Regions from separate parts of the Homo sapiens genome. Here region 1 is linked to region 2. Evidence: promoter capture Hi-C in 16 types of primary human blood cells and fetal thymus (Javierre and others, 2016). All regions are on one chromosome and are shown on one strand. The core of a region is centred on a gene start or on the middle of the fragment in contact, and the rest is flanking DNA. Distances in the headings are between cores, read along the strand shown. Region 1 has its middle 21 kb from the start of BNIP5. Region 2 holds the start of SLC26A8 (solute carrier family 26 member 8).

What was found. The method cuts DNA at HindIII sites, captures the fragments that hold promoters and counts their contacts. A CHiCAGO score of 5 or more calls a contact.
Region 1: a fragment that was not itself captured here is called in contact with the fragment with the promoter of SLC26A8 in region 2 in 15 of 17 cell types (total CD8 T cells, naive CD4 T cells, total B cells and 12 more); the score reaches 27.3 in total CD8 T cells.

The regions. Positions count from the first base shown.
Region 1 is chr6:36,354,849-36,360,917 of GRCh38, reverse strand. It overlaps a transcript of ETV7 not described here. Among named protein-coding and RNA genes, the nearest start is that of BNIP5, 21 kb to the right of the region's middle. The HindIII fragment of the contact is 245 bases long and covers 2,615-2,859 here.
Region 2 is chr6:36,023,364-36,029,077 of GRCh38, reverse strand. SLC26A8 (solute carrier family 26 member 8) reads left to right here and starts at 4,437. Exons shown (of 20, transcript NM_052961.4): 1 at 4,437-4,574. MAPK14 (mitogen-activated protein kinase 14) reads right to left here and starts at 1,270. Exons shown (of 12, transcript NM_139012.3): 1 at 805-1,270. The coding sequence starts at 920. RefSeq lists a silencer at 930-1,029 and enhancers at 1,220-1,659, 3,991-4,490, 4,491-4,992. The HindIII fragment of the contact is 10,062 bases long and covers 3,504-5,714 here.

The DNA.
Region 1 (6,069 bases), core at 1,488-3,987, 330 kb before region 2:
GACAAAGTGGTGCTAGTGAATTCGGCTTGAGAGGCACCAGGGAGAGTTTCCCTCCGGAGAATCACAGGCTTCTGCTCTCTTTTTCCAACTTCCCTTTTGCAGGGCTGAGGTCTGGAAGCACAGTGGGGCTGTGGGCCTTCTGATCCTTGAGGGGGTCAGGGAGACTGCACGGGAAATGGGATTCTGGGCTGTGGGCTTCTCTCCACGGAAAGGCCTGCAGTTTAAAACCATGTCCACTAGGTGGTGCAAAAGCCTCTTTTTGTGTTAGTGTGGGGCCGGGCGGTGGCTGACTGAATGTTCTATGGACAGCAAGCCTGCCTTCTCTCACGGGGAGATGTGTACTCTCCAGCTCAGGCATGCTCTGTAAGTAGACATCCAGGCCCTGCTTGAACACCTCCAGTGACGGGGAACTCACACCTCCAGGGGGCAAAGTAAGTAGCAGGGGTGGGGGTGGAATTGAGGGGCACCATAAGCCAGCTGTCCGTTGATAGCATCAGCCTCCTCTCCTAACCCACAGGCCACTGGTTTCTGCAATTCCTATTTTCCCATTCTCTTTATTGGGAATAACTTCTTATCTCCTCTTCTTATGATCACTTTATCCTTGAGTAGTTTGTCAGCAGGGGCCTAGATGAGGCCTCTTACAGATCTGGGACATCTGCTAGGGGCATGTCAGAGCCTCTCTACCCTCACCCTACCCATGTAGACCTGATTAGGAATCAAAAAGACTGGCCGGGTGCAGTGGCTCATGCCTGTAATCCCAGCACTTTGGGAGGCCGAGGCGGGCGGATTACGAGGTCAAGAAATCGAGACCATCCTGGCCAACATGGTGAAACTCCGTCTCTACTAAAAATAAAAAAATTAGCTGGGCATGGTGGCACATGCCTGTAGTCCCAGCTACTTGGGAGGCTGAGGCAGGAGAATCACTTGAACCCGGGAGGTGGAGGCAGTGAGCCGAGATCGCGCCACTCACTCCAGCCTGGCATCAGAGTGAGACTCGGTCTCAAAAGAAAAAAAAAAAGGACTGAGGCTTCCTTAGTTTTCTACTGGCTTTAGTTACACCACCCTTCTAGGACTCACTTTCTACTTTTGTAAAATGAAAGACAACATCCTTTGCCCTGCTTAGCACATGGAGTTGAGAAATTTCAAATGAAATAATGCATTCATTTATTTAACATTCATTGAGCACCTACTGTAGGTTAAGCACTGTCTAGAAACAGGAATATTGTGGTGACCAGAACAGATAAATAAACAAATCAATACAGAATAAAATGGCAGGTGGTGATATGTACTATGAAGGAAAATAAAATAGAATCAAGTGAGAGGGGCCAAATTTAAATTGAGCTGTCAGAGATGTAAAAAACATGTGTAAGCAGGAACAAATCATCTTTACCTATGTCACTTTCTCTCCTGTAGTAGACTGTCCCCTTTCTTTCTTTTTTCTTTTTTTCTTTTTTCTTTTTTTTTTTGAGACTGAGTTTCGCTCTTGTTACCCAGGCTGGAGAGCAATGGTGCAATCTTGGCTCACCGCAACCTCCGCCTCCTAGGTTCAAGTGGTCCTCCTGCCTCAGCCTCCTGAGTAGCTGGGATCACAGGCGTGCACCACCACACCTGGCTAATTTTTGTATTTTTAGTAGAGACAGGGTTTCTCCATGTTGGTCAGGCTGGTCTTGAACTCTCGACCTCAGGTGATTTGCCCACCTTGGCCTCCCAAAGTGCTGGGATTATAGGTGTGAGCCACTTCGCCCAGCCTGTCCATCCCCTTTCTGTTTAATCTGCAGGTCACACCATGAAAGATGGACACTGTTGTTAGTTTGTTATGTGCAACCCAATGCAATCTTAATGGATATGAATAATGTAGACAGGCTGGGTGGAGAAGACCATCTTGGCCTAGAGCTGCCCCTCTCCCATCCTCTTCCTTTGGGGGAGCCATCAGCTAAGACCGAGATCACAAAGTCTCCTGAATAGACCTCAGTTCTCTAGATCTGGCCCATCTAAACATCCTAACTCAAGGAAGCACGGTGTATTGTTGAAAGTGCTCTGGCTGGAAAGCCCCAGAGTTCTAAATATGGCTCTTAAAATTCCAGCAATTCTGAGCAGGAAGAGCTTTCCCCTCAGTCACATGATCATATGCTCCAGCCAGTGACAAGCTCAGGTTCTCGACCTGTGGTGTGGGGTGGGGAGTACATATCAGATTCTCAGGGGACAGCTGATTGTGGGTGGCTGAACGTGGCGTGCAAATCTCTAGAGAGCTTCTAAAGCACCAACAAAGGCACTTTCTTCTCCACCACCCCCACAAGGGTCAGTGAGCTGACCCAGTGTTAGGGTTTGGGGGATGGGGAAACTGAACATCAGGGGGACCTTGAGATTCTGGGATTCTGGGCTTTCAGCCAGGGACCCTTCCAACCTTAGGAACAGAATATGCCAACTCTAGCCCTCTGCAAACTCTAAAGTGATTTGCAATAAGAACATTATTTTTTCCTGACTGACCAGTGAGTAATTTACCAAGCTGGGTCTTGATTGGCCACCAAAAGAAAAAAGGGCCTTTGACAAAGCAGGAGACCTGAACTAGAGCCAGCAGCAGAAGGCCCCCAGTGAAATGACAGAAACAAAAGCTTGGCAGCTCAACCACATCTTTATTTTGAGCAAGATGAAGTGCCTTTCTGACAATGCAAATTAATTCACCCAGCTTTTAAGTGAGGAAGACATGTCCAGATCAAAGTCCAGCTTCCCTTCTAAGGAGGCCAGCCCTACGTCATCTGCAGCTACTGTATCAGTTAGAGTCATGCTGGCCATAGCATCTCAACTGAAATCTCAGTGGCTTGATGTGATAGACATTCATTTTCTTGGCCACATAAAGCTTGGTTCATGGGTGGGGAGGGATCTTCCCCATGAAGTCATCTGGGGACCCAGGCTGATGGAGGTTGTACTGTCTCCTTCATGTGGTTTCTGTATGGGGGATTGACACCCAGCCCGCAGGTAGGGAGGAGAAAGCGTGAAGGATTGGGGAGGTGTTTTTTTGTTTGTTTTTGTTTTTGTTTTTGAGACAGAATCTCACTCTGTCACCTGGGCTGGAGTGCAGTGGTACAATTTTGGCTCACTGCAACCTCCACCTACCAGGTTCAAGTGATTCTCATGCCTCAGCCTCCCGAGTAGCTGGGATTACAGGTGTGTGCCACCAAACTTGGCTAATTTTTTATATTTTTAGTAGAGATAGGGTTTTTCCATGTTGGCCAGGCTGGTCTCGAACTTCTGACCTCAGGTGATCTGCCTGCCTTGACCTCCCAAAGTGCTGGGATTACAGGCATGAGCCAGCGCACGTGGCCGGGGAGGTGTTCTTATGGGAGGCGCCCATCATTTCTGCCCATATTTGTTGTCAGAACTCAGGCTTGTGATATTCCACCTATATTCCTTGCTCCTTTTGAGTGACTTTTCCTCTTATTTACACCATTCTCCACCCCTCTTCATCCTGCTCTGTGGCCAGGAGACTGTCCTGTATGGATTGCCCCAGTGGGCTTCCTGTCCTCTGGCTCCTGGTTGGTTTTAGTCAAGAAACTCTCTGGTCGGAGATTGCCAAGGTATTTTATTTCTCTAGTCCCTCCCTGCTGGCTCCCACAGGTTGGCTGTGTTCTCCTACTTAAGGCTGCAGCTTCTGTGCGCTGCCCTCTCTGTGCAGCCATATCCTTTCCAAGCTGTGTCACTGCTCCTTCCCCTGGACCTTTTAGGCTTTCAGTTGAAATCTGTTCAACTGACATTCAGCAGCCCTCTCAGTGGCAAATGGTATCTTGATTTTCCTGAGATACCTGGCTCCCTACATGTAGATTAAAACATAGGTTTCTCCTTGTGGATCCAAAAAAAAGAGATAATTTGTAATGCACTGTCTGCCATATATCTTCTCCCAACTTCCCATCAAAACTCCATGCTGGCTTCCAATCCTTTACAGCTGCTTCTTTGCGTTATGGCATAGAACTTTGATGAATTAACCTGTGATGATGTTTTCACGGGTGGTGATGGGGTCCCGCAAATTTCCCTCCATAGTGTATCTCCACTTGATACACACATCTTCACAGGACAATGCCTTAATCCTTAGGAGAGACTGGCTGTGAAGTAATGCAGGTGTCAGCCCAGCATTCCATCTACCATCCTCCTGGTAATAACTTTGTCTCTGGGAGTAACTCTTTTCCTACTCCATCACAGTGTCCTGCCCCCAGCAGTTGGGGAGGGCCCTGTAGCCCAGGCTGGGCCATTAAGAGAAGCCCATTTCCGTGGCCACAGCAACTGGTCCAGATGGTGCATGATCCAGGATAGGCCAATCAGGGTCCTTCCCTGGGATTTCTCTTTCTGTGTCTGGCTGGGAAGTTACCCCAAGCTAGTGGCAGCTGTGTCTTCTGCCATGAGGGGACACCAGAGGGGCAGAAAGGTGAGGTGAAGTCCCTGGAGGGTCTGGTCTCCACTTCTAATCTTGGGGCTCTCGGAGCTGTCATGATCCCTGCAGATCTTTCTTCAATTCTTTTTAAAAAATTGATATATAATAGTTGTATATATGTTTGGGATACGTGTGTTTGTTTGTGTTTTTTTTTGTTTTTTTTTTTTTTTTGAGACAGGGTCTCACTCTTTTACCCAGGCTGGAGTGCAATGGTGCCATCATTGCTCATCATTGTTTCACTGTGTTGCCTAGGCTGGTCTCAAAACTCCTGAGCTCAATGCAATCCACCTGCCTTGGCTTCCCAAAGAGAAGGGATTACAGGCGTGAGCCACTGTGCCCAGCCACATGTGAAATTTTGATAGCTGTAATTGCTTCAATTCTTTGACAATCCCAATAGCTTTCGAATACATCTCCTTTTCACTTATGTTGGTTTGAGTTGTGGTTTCTGTCTTGCACAATTATGAAAGGTCTATTTCTTAAGGAGGTACAATTTTTAGTCAAGGGATTGTTTGATACTCTTTAAGTTCACTGCCAGGCCTACCACTTATCTCTGTCGTAGGAGGAGAGTTCCTGTAATGAGAGGTTTTTAAGACGTCCTTTGTTCTGGGATGAATCAGAGGGAATGACTGCCTTGGAGCTCAGGATATTAAACTGAGTGGTGTCAAATATTCCCAGGATCAATCGACAATGCCATGTGTACCATCTCCTCCTACAGGGATTAAAGGCCTGATATTTAGATATGATTCTAGTTTTCTCTCAAATCCATACTTTAAGAGCTTATGGGCTGGGTGCGGTGGCTCACACCTGTAATCCCAGCACTTTGGGAAGCCAAGGTGGGCAGATAAGTTGAGGCCAGGAGTTCGAGACCAGCCTGGCCAACATGGTGAAACCCTGTCTCTACCAAAAAATACAAAAGTTAGCCAGGCGCAATGGCGCATGCCTGTAATCCCAGATACTTGGGAGGCTGAGGCAGGAGAATCACTTGAACCCGAGAGGCAGAGGTTGGAGTGAGGCGGAGAGTTGGAGGTTGGAGTAAGATCATGCCACTGCACTCCAGCCTGGATGACAGAGTGAGACTCTGTCTCAAAAAAAAAAAAAAGTCTATGAACATCAGTGTTATATACCACACTAATAAAATGAAAGACAAAACCCACATAATCATCTCAATAGATAGGGAAAAAGCATTTGACAAAATCCAAGTGTCTTATCATAAAAATATTCAACAAACCAAGACTAGAAGAGAACTTCCTCAAGCTGATCAAGACCATCTGTGAAAACCCCACAGCTACCATCCTACTTAATGGTGAACGACTAGATGCTTTTCTCCTAATATTGCAGGGTTCTAGTCAGAGCAGTGAGGCAAGAAAAAGAAATAAAAAGCATCTAGGTTGGAAAGGAAGAAGTAAAACTATCTCTGTTCATAGATAACATGATACTGTGTATAAAAATCCTAAGGAATAAAAAAACTATGAGAACTAATTAATGAGTTCAGTAAGTTTGCAGAATACAAGACTAACCTACAAAAGTCAATTGTATTTCTATCTATGACAATGAACAACCTGAAAATGAAATTCAAAATAATTCTATTTCCAATACCATCAAAAGAATAAAACACAAATAAACTTAAAGCACAAGACATATACTCT
Region 2 (5,714 bases), core at 3,188-5,687:
TGTCGAACAATACTTAAATGAGCAGTGGTATGTGACTAATCAGTGAGCCTGCCAGTTTCTCAAGCTGCAGTGTTCTTGCAGGCACTACCACCGCCGCCCCTCCACGGAAAGGAAATACGCTTTCAACCGAATCGGAAACACACCACTCAAGCTGGCACAGTGCTCACCGAGATAAAGTCGGTATTTTAAGCTCTATGGATCGCTGTTAATTCAAGTGCGAATTCAAAAAGAACGCTTTTCAAGATGGGATTTCGACAGAGTTTTGAAAAAAAAAAAAAAAAAAAAAGGCCCGGAGAGAGCTCCCTTCCTGGTCAGTTTTGTTCAGATGACCGCAGTCTTCGGGTTGGGCTGTGCCCTTCTGCTTCTCCCGGCAGTTCCCCGAGCTTGTCTGCTCAGAGGACCCAGGGTCCGGAGCCCCAGCGTGGGCGCATCACGGGAGAGGGTCCTTCTGCTCCAGGTAGGCAGGGAGACCCCCAAGGAAGCGGCCCTTCCCCCGGTGCCTGTTGCCGAGCAGCAACCCTCCGAGAGGGGAAGGCGCAGGGTGCTAGCCAGAACCGAGCTCCAGCACCACCACCTACCTCTCGCAGCGGACCTGAGTGCTGCACACGGTGGACCGCATACCTGCGTGAGTGCAGGGCGAGGGGTGCTGGAGGTGCAGAACGGGCAGAGCTCGAAGGGGCAGCAATGCCCTCCCCCGAGGAAAATTCCTGCCACTTGACGCAACGCTGAGCAGTGGAGCAGGCCTGGCCCTCGGGCGCGAGGGGCCACCCTGCCCACAGCGGCCCCAGGCCCAGCGACACTCACCACACAGAGCCATAGGCGCCAGAGCCCACTGGAGACAGGTTCTGGTAACGCTCGGGCACCTCCCAGATTGTCTTGTTCAGCTCCTGCCGGTAGAACGTGGGCCTCTCCTGAGACATTTTCCAGCGGCAGCCGCCGGGCAAGAAGGTGGCCCTGTGGGGCCCCCGCCTGCACCCGCACCCTCTCCCCGGCCCTTGCTGCCCGCCCAGCCGGGCGGGGACCTTGCGCTGGTCGCCCGCGCAGGTGCGGCTGCCGCGACCCCGCAGACTCCCGCGCGCGCGGCTGCTGTCAGCCGCAGCGGCTGGATGTGCCCCTGCGACTGGGGCAAGCCCCGCTAAGGGCAGGGACGCGCTCCGGCGCTCAAGACTGCGCCCGCCGCGATCTCCCTGCACCTTCGCCCCTACAAGGCCGACTCCGGGCTGCGTCGCAGTACTCCCGTTCCAGCTGCTGCGCCCGCTAAGGCTCCAGTGGTCGCGGTTCCAAGAGCCAGCAAACGGGAGCCTCCCGCAGTACTCTCGCGAGAACAGCTCCCGGGACTCTCCGAGAGCCGAGATTTTACCCAATATGGAACCTCTCCGCGGGCGGGGCTTCGTGAGAGAAGAGGATGGGAGGAGCAGTTCTCGCGAGAAGAGAACAATAACTGGAGACCAAAGGCAGAAACTCCCAGGGACTGTCTCCTTAAGGGCGCGAAGGCGGACCGGGGAAGGAAGAGAGAAGCTGGCAGCACACGCCTCGCGCGCCTCACCGTGGCCGGCGGGGCAAATACCTGGCTCTGTGGTGGAAAACGACACTGACAAATAGCGTGTCGGGGAAAGAGTCAAAAGATCTTTAACTGCGAGTAGTTACCAGCAGCAGAGCACCTGCTCACCTGAACCCCCAAATTCCAAAAAACACTTGCATAAAAAAGAGACAAGTGGCCGGGCGTGGTGGCTCACGCCTGTAATCCCAGCACTTTGGGAGGCCGAGGCGGGCGGATCACCTGAGGTCGGGAGTTCGAGACCAGCCTGACCAACATGGAGAAACCCCGTCTCTACTAAAAATGCAAAATTAACCGGGCGTAGTGGCGCGCACCTGGAGTCTTAGCTATTCGGGAGGCTGAGGCAGGAGAATCGCTTGAACCCGGGAGGCGGAGTTGCGGTGAGCCGAGATCGTGCCATTACACTCCAGCCTGGGCAACAAGAGCGAAACTCCGTCTCAAAAGAAAGAAAGAAAGAAAGAGACAGGTTCCGGCCAGAAGGCTGTTGCATTCCCATCTGCTCAAGGACATATGGGTTACTCTTTGAGATGCTGACGAAATATGTCCCAAAGGCAAATGTTAACCCTGCATCAAAGCTGAGGCTTTCCAGGGGCTGGGCTCAGTGGCTCACACCTGTTATCCCAGCACTTTGGGAGGCCGAGGCGGGTGGATCACGAGGTCAAGCGATAGAGACCATCCTGGCCAACATGGTGAAACCTCGTCTCTACTAAAAAAAATACAAAAATTAGCTGGGCGTGGTGGCACGACCCTGTAGTCCCAGCTTCTCGGGAGGCTGAGGCAGGAGAATTGCATGAATCCAGGAGGCGGAGGTTGCAGTGAGCTAAAATCGCGCCACTGCACTCCAGCCTGGCGTCAGAGGGAGACTCCGTCTCAAAAACAAAAACAAAAACAAAAACAAACCGAAGCTTTACATTAAAACTCTCCCAGTTAAACTTACATGCAGAAAAATCACCCTGGGAGTTTAAGATGCAAGTTCCCAGAACTCACAGGGAGTCTAATTGGGTAGGTCAGAGGAGGTCTTGATCAAGAGCATGCATTTTTATAATACATCTTAGGTGATTCTGATTCAGGAAAGTCTCTGATATCTCCCTTTGAGAAGCATTTAAAAAACCGTTACACTGAAGATTTGAAACTGACTCCTATCCTGAAGAGCCATCAGTGAAGAGGATTTTAAGCATTTAACTCAGGCCTCTTCGAGTAAGGAGAATAGGGCAGGAGTCTCATCGAATTTAGGCAAGTCAACTGACCTTTCCTGAACCTCAGTTCCAGCTTCTACGAGAGAATTCCTGCCCTGCATTCCCGACTAACAGAGTCATTTGTAAAAACCAAACAAGATAAATGTGAATGGGCAAGGCATTCTAACCCCATGCCTACATCCATTATCAACCTATGCCTATGCTAAAGCTTGTTACAATGAGCAGAAGAATCAGATCCTGTCTCATTCTCTTAGTTTCTTGTATTAGAAATAACTAGATCCAAGCCAGGACATTTCTCAACATTTCCCGTGATTATTCTATTTTGTGTCATACACACCTTGGAGGGCTCAGACTTTGCATATCTTGTCCCAACATCTAGCACAATGTCTAGAACATAAAACATGTGTCATAAATATTTGTTGAAAAAATTATGAACAGTGACCATGATTTCAAGTGGTACAGTATCCTCAGTCCTCTTCAAGGAAAGCAATATAAAACCAAAAAACAGATAGTCATGGGTGATTCATGGAAAGCTGTTTTGGATCCAATGTAGCTTAGGCTGGAATTCTCTTATCTACAAAAACATGTTGCTTGAGAATGTTCCAAACTAGGGAGGATAGGAAGCTTTCTAAGAAGTAATGGAGGGTGAAGGGGAAGTAAGAGCAAAAACATGATTGTGAAGACATGAGGGATGGGGTTGGGGGGATCAAGGGAATGAGGGAATGGTTACAAAGGGTGAGGAGGAAGCTTGGAAGTAGGAATCCTCAGAAATGCACATTTTTATCCTACAAATTGGGATGATGAGGTGAGGGTGAATGAAAGGGTAAAGATAAAGTAAGCAGTATATTCATACACTCATTCAACCAATGTGTATTAAATGCCTACTAGGTGTCAAACACTTGCAGTTTAAAAGTGATTAAAAACTACAGTTGCTGCCGGTGTGGAGCTTACAATCAATGGGAGGGCAATCATTCAACAAAAATTAATTGAATACTTCCTATGTCCACCACACTGCTGTAGGCACTGATAATAAAACAGTTAATGAAAGGGATAAAAGTCCTTGCCCTCATAGGGGTAAGATGATTTACAAAAAGGAATACATAAAGTGCATTATAAGGTAGACATTAACACAGTCATCAAACAAACAAGTGTAAAACTGTAACTGGGCCAAGCAGGAATACAAGGTGGAGTGAGAGACAGTGCTAGGGACAGGGATAGGGTGGGAGGAGGGTAAAGGGAGTGAGTGCAGATGGCATGTCTGCATCCAGAGCAGATCTGGGCAGGAGGGTGTCATTCAGTGGGGAGAGCCGGGTTTGTGGGGCAGACAGCCTATGGTTGGAGACCTGGGTGACCCTCCTAGCCTCCATTTCTTTTTACCTCTTCTGACCTGAGGAAGGCTTAAGTCTTCCGGAGACGTTAGTGAATTACCGTCTGTGCAGTACACATGTGACACATGTGCACTGCTGTATGTTCAGGACACGAGGCCTGGCACCAAATAGGCCCTCGATCAAGAATAGCAAAACCTCGGAGAGAGAAGGAGCCTTGGTATACAGGTTTACCAAATACCAAGGGGATCCCACGACTCAGGTATGAGGAGGGCGACCCAGGTACCACTTTCCTGGCTCCCTAGCCCAGCTGCTCATGCTCCTCTTCCTCGTCCCCTCCCCCACTCTCATCTCCTCAGCCCGCCCGGAACGCCCGCGGGCTAGGCCACAACGGCTCGGGAACCGCCGCCGGTATCCGCGTCCGCAGCGCCGCCAGCCAGGCGAGAGCCGTGTGGGATCCCAGCGCCCGCACTCCCGCCCCCGCCAAGGAGCCAGGTGAGCCGCTGCTGGGAGACGCCTGGGCGCCGGGGGCTGCAGGTCCCAGGGCGGGGGCTGCGTCCGTCACCGGCAGGTACCCAGGTATGCCGCAGAGCCAGGCACGCCGTGGGCACTCAGTCAGTATCTGTGGAATGAATGAATGATGGTCGTCCCTGGGAGCTTATCTCTGAGGTATTGTCTCTACTTTCAAAGGCCGTGTGGATGGCAATGACAAGAGACAACAGTGTGTGCGTTTTGCAAGCTGCATCCTTTCAAATTCTCCTGTCTATATTGTCAAAAGCCCCAGAACTGACGTGCTACCTGCACCCCACCGCCTACCCCATCCATTTCCTCCTGAGGCCTGACTGCCCGGCCGTTCCTCTTCCTTTCAGACCCCACTGCTTTTGTTAATTTTGTTCCCTGTGACTGAATCCCCACCCCCACCTCCTTGCCCCTTTCTTTTCATGTCAAATGCCGTTGATGTGTCAGGGGCCCCGTGAAGCCTTCTCCAGCACCCCCACCCCAATAATGAGCATCTCTCCAACACACCATGTTACTCTATCCACATTGCATGGAAGGTGGTTGTCCTATGTTTATGTGTCCAATGGTCATCCGCTTAAGGACTGTCATCTTACTAGTCATCCCTAGCCACTAGCCAGAGTGACTAAAGGATCTAAAGGCCAGGCTCTTTGCTTATACCTTTTCTGTATTCCCAATACATTCTCCATAAAAACCTAGGTAGTAACAGGTGTAGGGTTGTTTCTGATGGAATTACAAATGCTTATTTTGAAAATTCGGAAGTAAATTTTGCCTTTCCGTGATTATAGAAAACATAAGAAAGTTAACAATATCAGGGGGAAGATATTCCTGCAACTAAACTAGCTTTCAAGATTTCATATTATTTGGGTCAATAGCTAAAAAATTGGATTGTATTTAAACTTTTTATTCTTGACTTTTTTTTTTTTTTTTTTTTTTGAGACAGAGTCTTGCTCTGTCGCCCAGGCTGGAATGCAGTGGTTTGATCTCGGTTCACTGCAACCTCTGCCTCCTAGGTTCAAGCGATTCTCCTGCCTCACCCTCCTGAGTAGCCAGGACTACAGGCACGCCATCATGCTCGGCTAATTTTTGTATTTTTATTAGAGACGGGGTTTCACCATG